Linked DNA regions of Homo sapiens: regions 1 and 2 are each linked to region 3. The links are contacts of gene promoters, found by promoter capture Hi-C in blood cells and fetal thymus (Javierre and others, 2016). All regions are on one chromosome and are shown on one strand. The core of a region is centred on a gene start or on the middle of the fragment in contact, and the rest is flanking DNA. Distances in the headings are between cores, read along the strand shown. Region 1 overlaps UBR2 (ubiquitin protein ligase E3 component n-recognin 2). Region 2 overlaps PTK7 (protein tyrosine kinase 7 (inactive)). Region 3 holds the start of PEX39 (peroxisomal biogenesis factor 39).

Evidence for each region. Contacts are between HindIII fragments. The CHiCAGO score rates a contact against its expected background, and 5 or more counts as called.
Region 1: a fragment that was not itself captured here is called in contact with the fragment with the promoter of PEX39 in region 3 in 10 of 17 cell types (naive CD8 T cells, naive CD4 T cells, total CD4 T cells and 7 more); the score reaches 8.9 in naive CD8 T cells.
Region 2: a contact is called between a fragment that was not itself captured here and the fragment with the promoter of PEX39 in region 3, in 2 of 17 cell types (naive CD8 T cells and total CD4 T cells). The highest score is 7.6, in naive CD8 T cells.

The regions. Positions count from the first base shown.
Region 1 is chr6:42,648,975-42,651,789 of GRCh38, reverse strand. It overlaps UBR2 (ubiquitin protein ligase E3 component n-recognin 2), which reads right to left. Exons shown (of 47, transcript NM_001363705.2): 23 at 1,404-1,506. Among named protein-coding and RNA genes, the nearest start is that of PRPH2, 72 kb to the left of the region's middle. The HindIII fragment of the contact is 1,824 bases long and covers 483-2,306 here.
Region 2 is chr6:43,145,080-43,147,871 of GRCh38, reverse strand. PTK7 (protein tyrosine kinase 7 (inactive)) reads right to left here. Exons shown (of 20, transcript NM_002821.5): 16 at 2,440-2,672; 17 at 1,174-1,254. Among named protein-coding and RNA genes, the nearest start is that of SRF, 25 kb to the left of the region's middle. The HindIII fragment of the contact is 1,549 bases long and covers 545-2,093 here.
Region 3 is chr6:42,889,525-42,892,224 of GRCh38, reverse strand. PEX39 (peroxisomal biogenesis factor 39) reads left to right here and starts at 1,404. Exons shown (of 1, transcript NM_001008739.2): 1 at 1,404-1,960. The coding sequence starts at 1,437. The coding sequence ends at 1,742. RPL7L1 (ribosomal protein L7 like 1) reads right to left here. Exons shown (of 6, transcript NM_001366481.3): 6 at 2,325-2,700. RefSeq lists enhancers at 953-1,002, 1,063-1,912. The HindIII fragment of the contact is 5,960 bases long and covers 131-2,700 here.

The DNA of each region.
Region 1 (2,815 bases), core at 145-2,644, 240 kb after region 3:
CCGGGGCGTGGCAGCTCACACCTGTAATCCCAGCACTTTGGGAGGCCAAGACAGGTGGATCACCTGAGGTCAGGAGTTCGAGAGCAGCCTGGCCAACGCGGAGAATCCCCATCTCTACTAAAAATACAAAAATTGGCTGGGCGTGGTGGCACACACCTGTAATCCTAGCTACTCAGAAGGCTGGGGCAGGATAATTGCTTGAACCTGGGAGGCAGGGGCTCTAGTGAGCCGAGGTCTGCACTCCAGCCTGGGTAACAGAGTGAGACCCTATCTCAAAAAAAATAAAAAATAAAAAAGATATCTATCTTTAAGTTCTAGTCCTCCCCCAAACGGATACATCAAGGTTAATTTTTTTTTTTAACTAAAAGAATCTCCAAACGAGTTCTCTATTACTTTAAATTAGAAGGGAAACATGTACTTAAATAAGTACAAACTTATTTAAGTTTGAACTCTATGACTTCATCAAAAACTAAATAAAAGCTTTATGTTTAAGTTTTATTTAATGCTGTTTATTGAAAAACCATTTTAAGAGGAGACTGCTAAAAGGCAGATTTTTTTTTTTTTTTTGAGATACGGTCTCACTCCCATCATCCAAGCTGGAATGCAGTGGTGCAATCATAGCTCACTGCAGTCTTGACCTCCTGGGCTCAAGTGATCCTCCTATCTCAGCCTCCTGAGTAGCTGGGACGAGAAGTGCATGACACCATGCCTGGCTAATTTTTGTATTTTTAGTAGACATGGGATTTCAACATGTTGGCCAGGCTGATCTCGAACTCCTGAGCTCAAGCGATCTGCCCGCCTCAGCCTCCCAAAGTGCTGGGATTACATGCCCCACCAAAAAGGCAAAATTTAATTACCTAGGAATGATTAGAAAAGCTCCATGAATCTCTATGAAAAAGTGTTAAATAATACCAATTCTGAAATGTGCATAAAATGGATTAACTGATTATAATACAGGTTGAAAATTTGTTTTAAAAAACTATACCCATATACGTAAAGGTATGTATTATATAGATCGTATATACATATGTACAAAACGCTAGGGGGTAACTCCAAAATGTTAGGTGAGGGTATTTTAAGTAATTTCTACTTTCTTCTTTATATTTTATATTTTCCAAATCCCCTACAATAAAAATGTATCATTTTTCAATCTGCAAAAGCAGTAAAAAAGTTGTTTAGGAAAAAAAAATTCAAGCCAGATACAGTGGTGCATGCCTGTAATCTCATCTACTCAAGAGGCTGAGGTGGGAGAATTGCTTGAGCCCAGGAGTTTGAGGTTGCAATGCTCTATAATGGCATTGTGAATAGCCACCAAACTCTAGCCTGGGCAACATGGTGAAACCTCATCTCTTAAGAAAAACAATGCAATCCTTCCCTGCTACATTTTTAATTTTCCCAATTACCTTGGACTGTTCTGCCCTTGAAAAGTGATAGAAATACAAGTTGAACTCTTTGGCACATTCTGGTTTCAGTTCATACATGCCTCGTCCTGTTAATCCAGGTTTCCTGTGAAAGAAAGGACCTTAGAATATTATTACCAAAGCCATACACTAATTTATGAGAGATAGTCTTGGATATTAGAACAAGAAAGCAGAGCTCTCATATACTGCTGGTGGGTGTTAAGCTACAACTATTTTCAGTGGGTTGATTTGGCAGTCTAAATCCGAGTTCTACATGCATCTGTTTTATTTAGCATGCCCACTTGGAATTTATCCTAACTAGACAAGTGAACGTGATGGACACTGCAGTGGCAACAATTAAAAAGTCTAATAACGTGAAATAACAAATTACAACATCTCCAAACAACTGAACACCATTAACAGTGATAATTTCTCTATTTTCACATGTAAAGACTTCCGTGTTGTTCTATTAAGCAGAAAAAAGCAGGTACACTATTGGGGTTTAGAGAACTTTCCTAAGCAAGTTATAAAACCCAGAAGCCAATTGAGACAGAGTTTTAAAAACAGAAAGTTAAAAAACAAGGGAGACTGGAAGAAAGTACTGTGATGTATTAAATAAGAATTGACATTTCTAATATATAATACTTTCGGAACAATAAGATAGGGACAAACAACCATAAAGAAAAATGCATTAAAGTATGAAAAAATAAACGGCCAATAAACACATGAAAAGAAGCTCAACTTCACTTAGAGTAACGCAAATTAAAATAAGGTACTAAAAGACTGCTCATATTAAAGTGTTGACAAAGTTGCAGGGCACTCTTTATACACTTCTAGTCAGAGTGTAAATCGAGGACTTTTTTGGGAAGGCAATTAGGAGGTATGTACCAAAATGTAATACAAGCTTTCATTTTGATCTAGCTAATCCTCAAAGAAACACTTTCACAGTCAAAGATACATTTGTTAATGCTGTATGTACAAGGATTTTCAATATTTGTTTATAAGAGAAAATCTGGAAGCTATGTATTATAGGGAAGAGGTTAGATACATTACAGTACATGACTACAAGGAAGTGAAAAAGGGCCTGGCACCATAGCTCATGCCAGTAATCTCAGCACTTTGAGAGGCCGAGGCGGGCTGGATCATCTGAAGTTAGGAGTTTGAGACCAGCCTGGTCAACATGGTGAAACCCCATGTCTACTAAAAATACAAAAATTAGCCAGGTGTGGTGGCGGGCGCCTGTAATCCCAGCTACTTGGGAGGCTGAGGCAGGAGAATTGCTTGGACCTAGGAGGCGGAGGTTGCAGTGAGCCAAGACCGTGCCACTGCACTTGAGTCTCGCTTTGTTACCCAGGCTGAAGTGAAAAAGGATGAAGTATGCCTATATGTACTGACAAAGTATATTATGTAAAAAC
Region 2 (2,792 bases), core at 70-2,569, 260 kb before region 3:
GGTGTAGCAAGTCCCATCCTGTGGCTTCTCCTCTACAGCCACTATACACAGTTCCTGCAGTTTCATGGGGAAGGAGGTAGGGGTGTGGTGTCAGGTGGCCAGGTCACTTGTCCTGTCTGGGTCTTAGTAAATTCACATGTAATAAGAGGGGGCCAGCCTGAAGGGCACAGAGCTGCTTCCCCAGAGAGATTGGGGGCAGCCAGGGTCCCATTCACCTGATTCATCTGCCAGCCATGCCTTTCTGCTCTGCCTCCAGAGTCTGTGACCTGGGACAGCCTAGCAGGCAAGGAATGGTCCCCTGGGAGAAAGGGCAGAGCCTTCTGCCTACCCTGCCCTGAGCTCTGATTTGGTTTATGAGGTCACTTCACTGCCAGCTTGGAAGCAGACTCTCCAGTCACATGGAAGGAAGTAGATCCATTTCAGAGGGGAGAGGAGGCAGCTGTGGGCAAGAAGAACCTGAGGGAAGGAAGAAGGGGCCGGGCCACAGCAAGCCCCAGGCACTGGAAAGGTATGGACTGAGGTGGCAGGGGGTAGCAGGCAAGCTTTCCCTTCTTCACTGTTTCAACCAAGGTCTGCTCTACCACAGGGGCCCCAGCCAGGGCTCTGTGCCCAGAACAACCTCTGCGCAAAAGGCAGGAGGAAAACTGGAATGAAAGGCTGGGCAGCTACAGCCCAAGGGAGAGGACAAGATGCAAACCACAGAGGGGGAAACCCAGGCAGCCCATTCACAGAAGAGTCTTCTCCACTCAGAGCTGAAGAAACACGCTCAGGCCCACAGCTAGCCCAGCAGGCCCCTGCACTAGGACTGCTTGCTGCTTCTCCAGCTCAGAGCTCATTGCAGGTGGGCAGGCGTCCTGCTCCAATGCAAGCTCCTGCCCAGAGGCAAGGTCCGAGGGTAGCTCTTCTCCGTGAAGCCAGCATGGCAATGCAAAGCCACTTCCAGGCTACATGACCTGGGACAGGTCAGACAACCTCCTAAGCCTCAATGTCTTCATCCACAAAATGGGGATAGTAGTATATATTTCAGACGACTACCGTGATAATTACAGTAACACATGTGAAGTTCTTACCATAGGGCCTGGCCCATAGAGAGCCCTCAATAAATGGTGCCTCTGTTGCTCCTGGCCCACCCCTGGGCACCCTCTCCCTCCCTCCTTCACTCCCTGTCCTCACCTTCTGCTTGGTGCTGAGGGGCTGTGACTTCAATTTTTCATCCTTGCTCTTGGAAATCCTCAGGAACTGCTTGAGGTCTCCCTAAGGGAAAAGCCAGGCATCTCGCTCAGGTCAGTGCACAGCCATTGGCTGTAAAGCCTCAGACCAAGCAGGTGCTCGCAGAATTCCTGCCTGGGGAGGCAGTGAGAAGGCCTAAGCTAGCCTGGGCCCCTTTCCCAGGGGGAAGTTCACTGGGAGTGCAGAACTTTAAAAATATATAGGAGACGCCTCCTAGAGGCTGTCTCAGTTAGAAAGGAGGAGAATTGGCATTTCTACCCCAAGGGGAACCTCCAGACAGGTGGGGCAACAGAGCCCCCATCTTCAGTGAGCCAAGAGGAAAACAGTCCCCTACCCTCTGCCCTCAAAGATTCCTGAGAGGAAACCCCTGTCCTCCAGAGCTTTACAATCTAATCTAAACAAACAAAGGAGAACGCCAGCAGCAGAAACATACATAAAGCATTCATAAGTACTTGTTTGTTTGTTTTTAATTTTTTTGTAGAGACAGAGTCTTGCTATGTTGCCCAGGCTGGTCTCGGACTCCTGGCCTCAGGCGATCCTCCTGCCTCAGTCTCCCAAAGTGCTGGGATTACAAGTGTGAGCCACTGTGCCCAGCCGCGTAAGTACTTGTTAATGGAAAGACTGATAGGACTCCTGCCCGCTCTTGCCCCAGAACTAGGGATTTGAGAAGCAGCAGTTTGAGGACCATGGGGTGAGGGCAAGGACCAGCTGGGGAATGAAGAGGAAGGCGCAGCTCTGGGAATGACACCCTGAGTGGAGAGGAGAAGGCTGGTGGCTGGGGTAACACTCATGTCACAAGTGGTGCTAGGAAGGAGGGAGGCAAAGTGGGTTCTGATATATTTATTCTCAAGTGGGGACAAGCTTTTGGGGAGGAAAAAATAACAAACCAAAGAAAACAAGAGTCAGAGAAGATGACCTGGAAGGCATCCCTGCAGTGTGACAGTGAGAAGTCCCAGAAAAACTTAGGACCAACGCCCCTGAGATACAGATGGAAAGACTGGGTGCTGATAAAGGGAAAGCAGGCATCCAAGAGCAGGGAAGGCAGAAGCTGAGCATCATAAGGTGGGCAAAGTGTAACAGCAGGCAGGTGAGGTCTCGGCTGAGACTGCACGAGACAAGGTTTTCACGGTGCTCCAACCACTGACTCCCACCTTTGTAGGACACTGCCCTCCCTACCCGAGACCCCCACGTCCCCTGCCAACAGCATACCAGATCCACATATTCCAGCACCATGTAGTGGGGCTCAGCCTCCCGGCACAGCCCCAGGAGCCGCACCACGTTGGCGTGGTTCAGCTTCCCAAACATCTCCAACTCCCTCCGGAAGTCCAGCTGCTGCTGCTCATCCTTGCTCTGCAGGCTCTTCACAAGTACCAGGGTCTCTGCCACTCCCTCCTCCAAGCCCTGAGCCTTTGCCAGGAACACCTCCCCAAACTCACTCTTCCCTGTGGGTACAGTCTGAGTCAGCCAGCCACCTTCACCCAGGCCGAGGCAGCTCCTGACCTGGGGGAGGGGCCTAGCCTCTCCCACAGTGGGGACCCACCCACCTGGGCTGGGCACGAGAC
Region 3 (2,700 bases), core at 155-2,654:
TTAGTAGAGATGGGGTTTCGCCATGTTGGCCAGGCTGGTCTCAAACTCCTGATCTCAGGTGACCTGCCCACCTCAGCCTCCCAAAGTGCTGGGATTACAGGTGTGAGCCACCACGCCTGGCCATTAAGCTTTGATTCTTTGATTAAGGTGATGTTCACCAGATCAGTCTAGCTTTTGATACTTTTTTTTTTTTTTTTTGAGACAGAGTTTTGCTGTGTCACCGAGGGTAGAGTGCAGTGCTGCAATCTCAGCTCACTGCAACTTCTGCCTCCCAGGTTCAAGCGATTCTCCTGCCTCAGCCTCCTGAGTAGCTGGGATTACAGGTGCATGCCACCACACCCAGCTAATTTTTGTATTTTTAGTAGAGACGGGGGTTGCCCCATGTTGGTCAGGCTGGTCTCAAACTCCTGACCTTGAGATCCACCTGCCTCCACCTCCCAAAGTGCTGGGATTACAAGTGTGAGCCACCGTGCCCGGCCACTTTTGATAATTTAAAAACCTGACTTTCCGAGCAGTCAGAGCAGCTGTAGCACATCTGACCTGCTTTCACCTTCGATCTTCTCTGGGACCACCAAGAATTGAAGGATGGCAGGAAGTGTGAAGAAAGTGGTGAGGCTCTGGCTGGGTGCGGTGGCTCACACCTGTAATCCCCGCACTTTGGAAAGCTGAGGCGGGTGCATCACTTAAGGTCAGGAGTTCGAGACTAGCCTAGCCAACATGGTGAAACCCTGTTTCTACTAAAAATACAAAAATTAGCTGGGCTTGGTGGCATACACCAGCTACTAGGGAGGCTGAGGCACTAGGGACCCTGTGGATCGCTTGAACCAGGAGGCGGAGGTTGCAGTGCGCTGAGATCGCATCGCTGCACTCCGGCCTGGGCAACAGAGTGAGACTCCGTCTAAAACAACACAAAACAATAATAACAACTAAGAGAGTAGCGTGGCTTGGTGGCGGTGTCACTCCTGAGGCCTCTGGGAACAACTCTACAGTTATGCTTTGTCCCGTGCTGCGGAGCCTAGTATGGGGATTATCCCCCGCCATGCGTTGTATCTGAATCCTTGTACGCGCGCCCGGGGGTGTGCATGAAAATGGGCATGTGCGCGGTGCTTATGTATGTATGGGTCTTTTTGCCCGCAGCGGCGCGTCCGCAGGCTTGTTCTGTCCTGTGCTAGCCTTCAAGTTTTGGCACGTCCGTCCGTTTTTCTTCTTTGGCGCGTCCGTTGGGCACTCTGGGTTTGGCTAAATCGTGGACGCTTCTAAAGCGTTTCTGCAGGGAGCTGGTCAGAGTTGTCAAGTGCTCCCCCAGTTCTGGGCCGGCTTGGTACGGTCTACAGCCTCCCTTTCCTTTCCCCACCTCCCCCATGGTGGTTGCACCCATTCGGCCCGGAAGTGCTCGCTTCTCTGCATTACACGCCGGTCAGGATTCGCGACCCGACATGGAGCGTCCCCGCAGTCCCCAATGCTCGGCCCCGGCCTCTGCCTCAGCTTCGGTTACCCTGGCGCAGCTCCTGCAGCTGGTCCAGCAGGGCCAGGAACTCCCGGGCCTGGAGAAACGCCACATCGCGGCGATCCACGGCGAACCCACAGCGTCCCGGCTGCCGCGGAGGCCCAAGCCCTGGGAGGCCGCGGCTTTGGCTGAGTCCCTTCCCCCTCCGACCCTCAGGATAGGAACGGCCCCGGCGGAGCCTGGCTTGGTTGAGGCAGCGACTGCGCCTTCTTCATGGCATACAGTGGGCCCCTGAGGTTCCAGGTCCTTTGCGGCGGCGATCTGGAGGGCGTGGCTACAGGACCCGGGATGCCATTCAGTTACTCATCTTTTATGCTTTCGTCCTGACCTGTCTCAACTAGACTTGCTCCTGCAACCACCATGGGGGTTTTGCATTTACATTTGTGGACCATGTTACAGTTAAGAAAAATCCTGTTTCAGTCCTTATATGTAATAAAATGTTTTATGATGTAACTTGGCCCCAGAATGATTTTGAAGATACATTAAAGGAAAGCCCAAAGCATTTAAAAAAGCCAACCAAGAAAGACTAAAATCTTGGCTCTTGGAATCAGCTGGATCAGGCAAGGGGCTAGAGAATTAGAGCATTAGAAAGGCTCCCACAGCCACCCTGAAATCAGTCCTTTTATGTTAAGCAGGCCACCTGGCTCAGTGCCTACATACTCAACACTAGATTTTACTTTCTCTACAAAAGCTAGAATGTACCTGGTACGTGCTGACATGACCCTAACCCACAGACGATGTAACAGGTCTACCTTTTCTCAGAAAGGATTGTCTCACAACTTGTTCAACGAATTAGTTATGTCATGGTACATACATATAAGTGCGCAATTTTTGTAACATCTTTTATTTGTATACAATTATAAATTACAAACTTGTTTTATTAGGTTTTTTAAAATTTATTTTTCGTCAACTTAGTCCCTTTTATTTACCAGCAGTTTGCTCTGACAGAATAAATTACAAACTATTGTTTTGTTTAATCCCTTTAACCATCATGTCAGGCACACAGGTTGGAGAATATTAGCTCCCATTTTATGGACAGAGTGGAAACACTGTACCCATATTTAGTGTAAGACAGAGCTGGGATATAAGCCTTGGGCTTCCATAGTCACAACTGCTTTTTTGCATAACTTTGTAATACATCATTTTAAAGTAATCTGATTTCACAATGTTTTACAGTATAGGAGTAACATCTA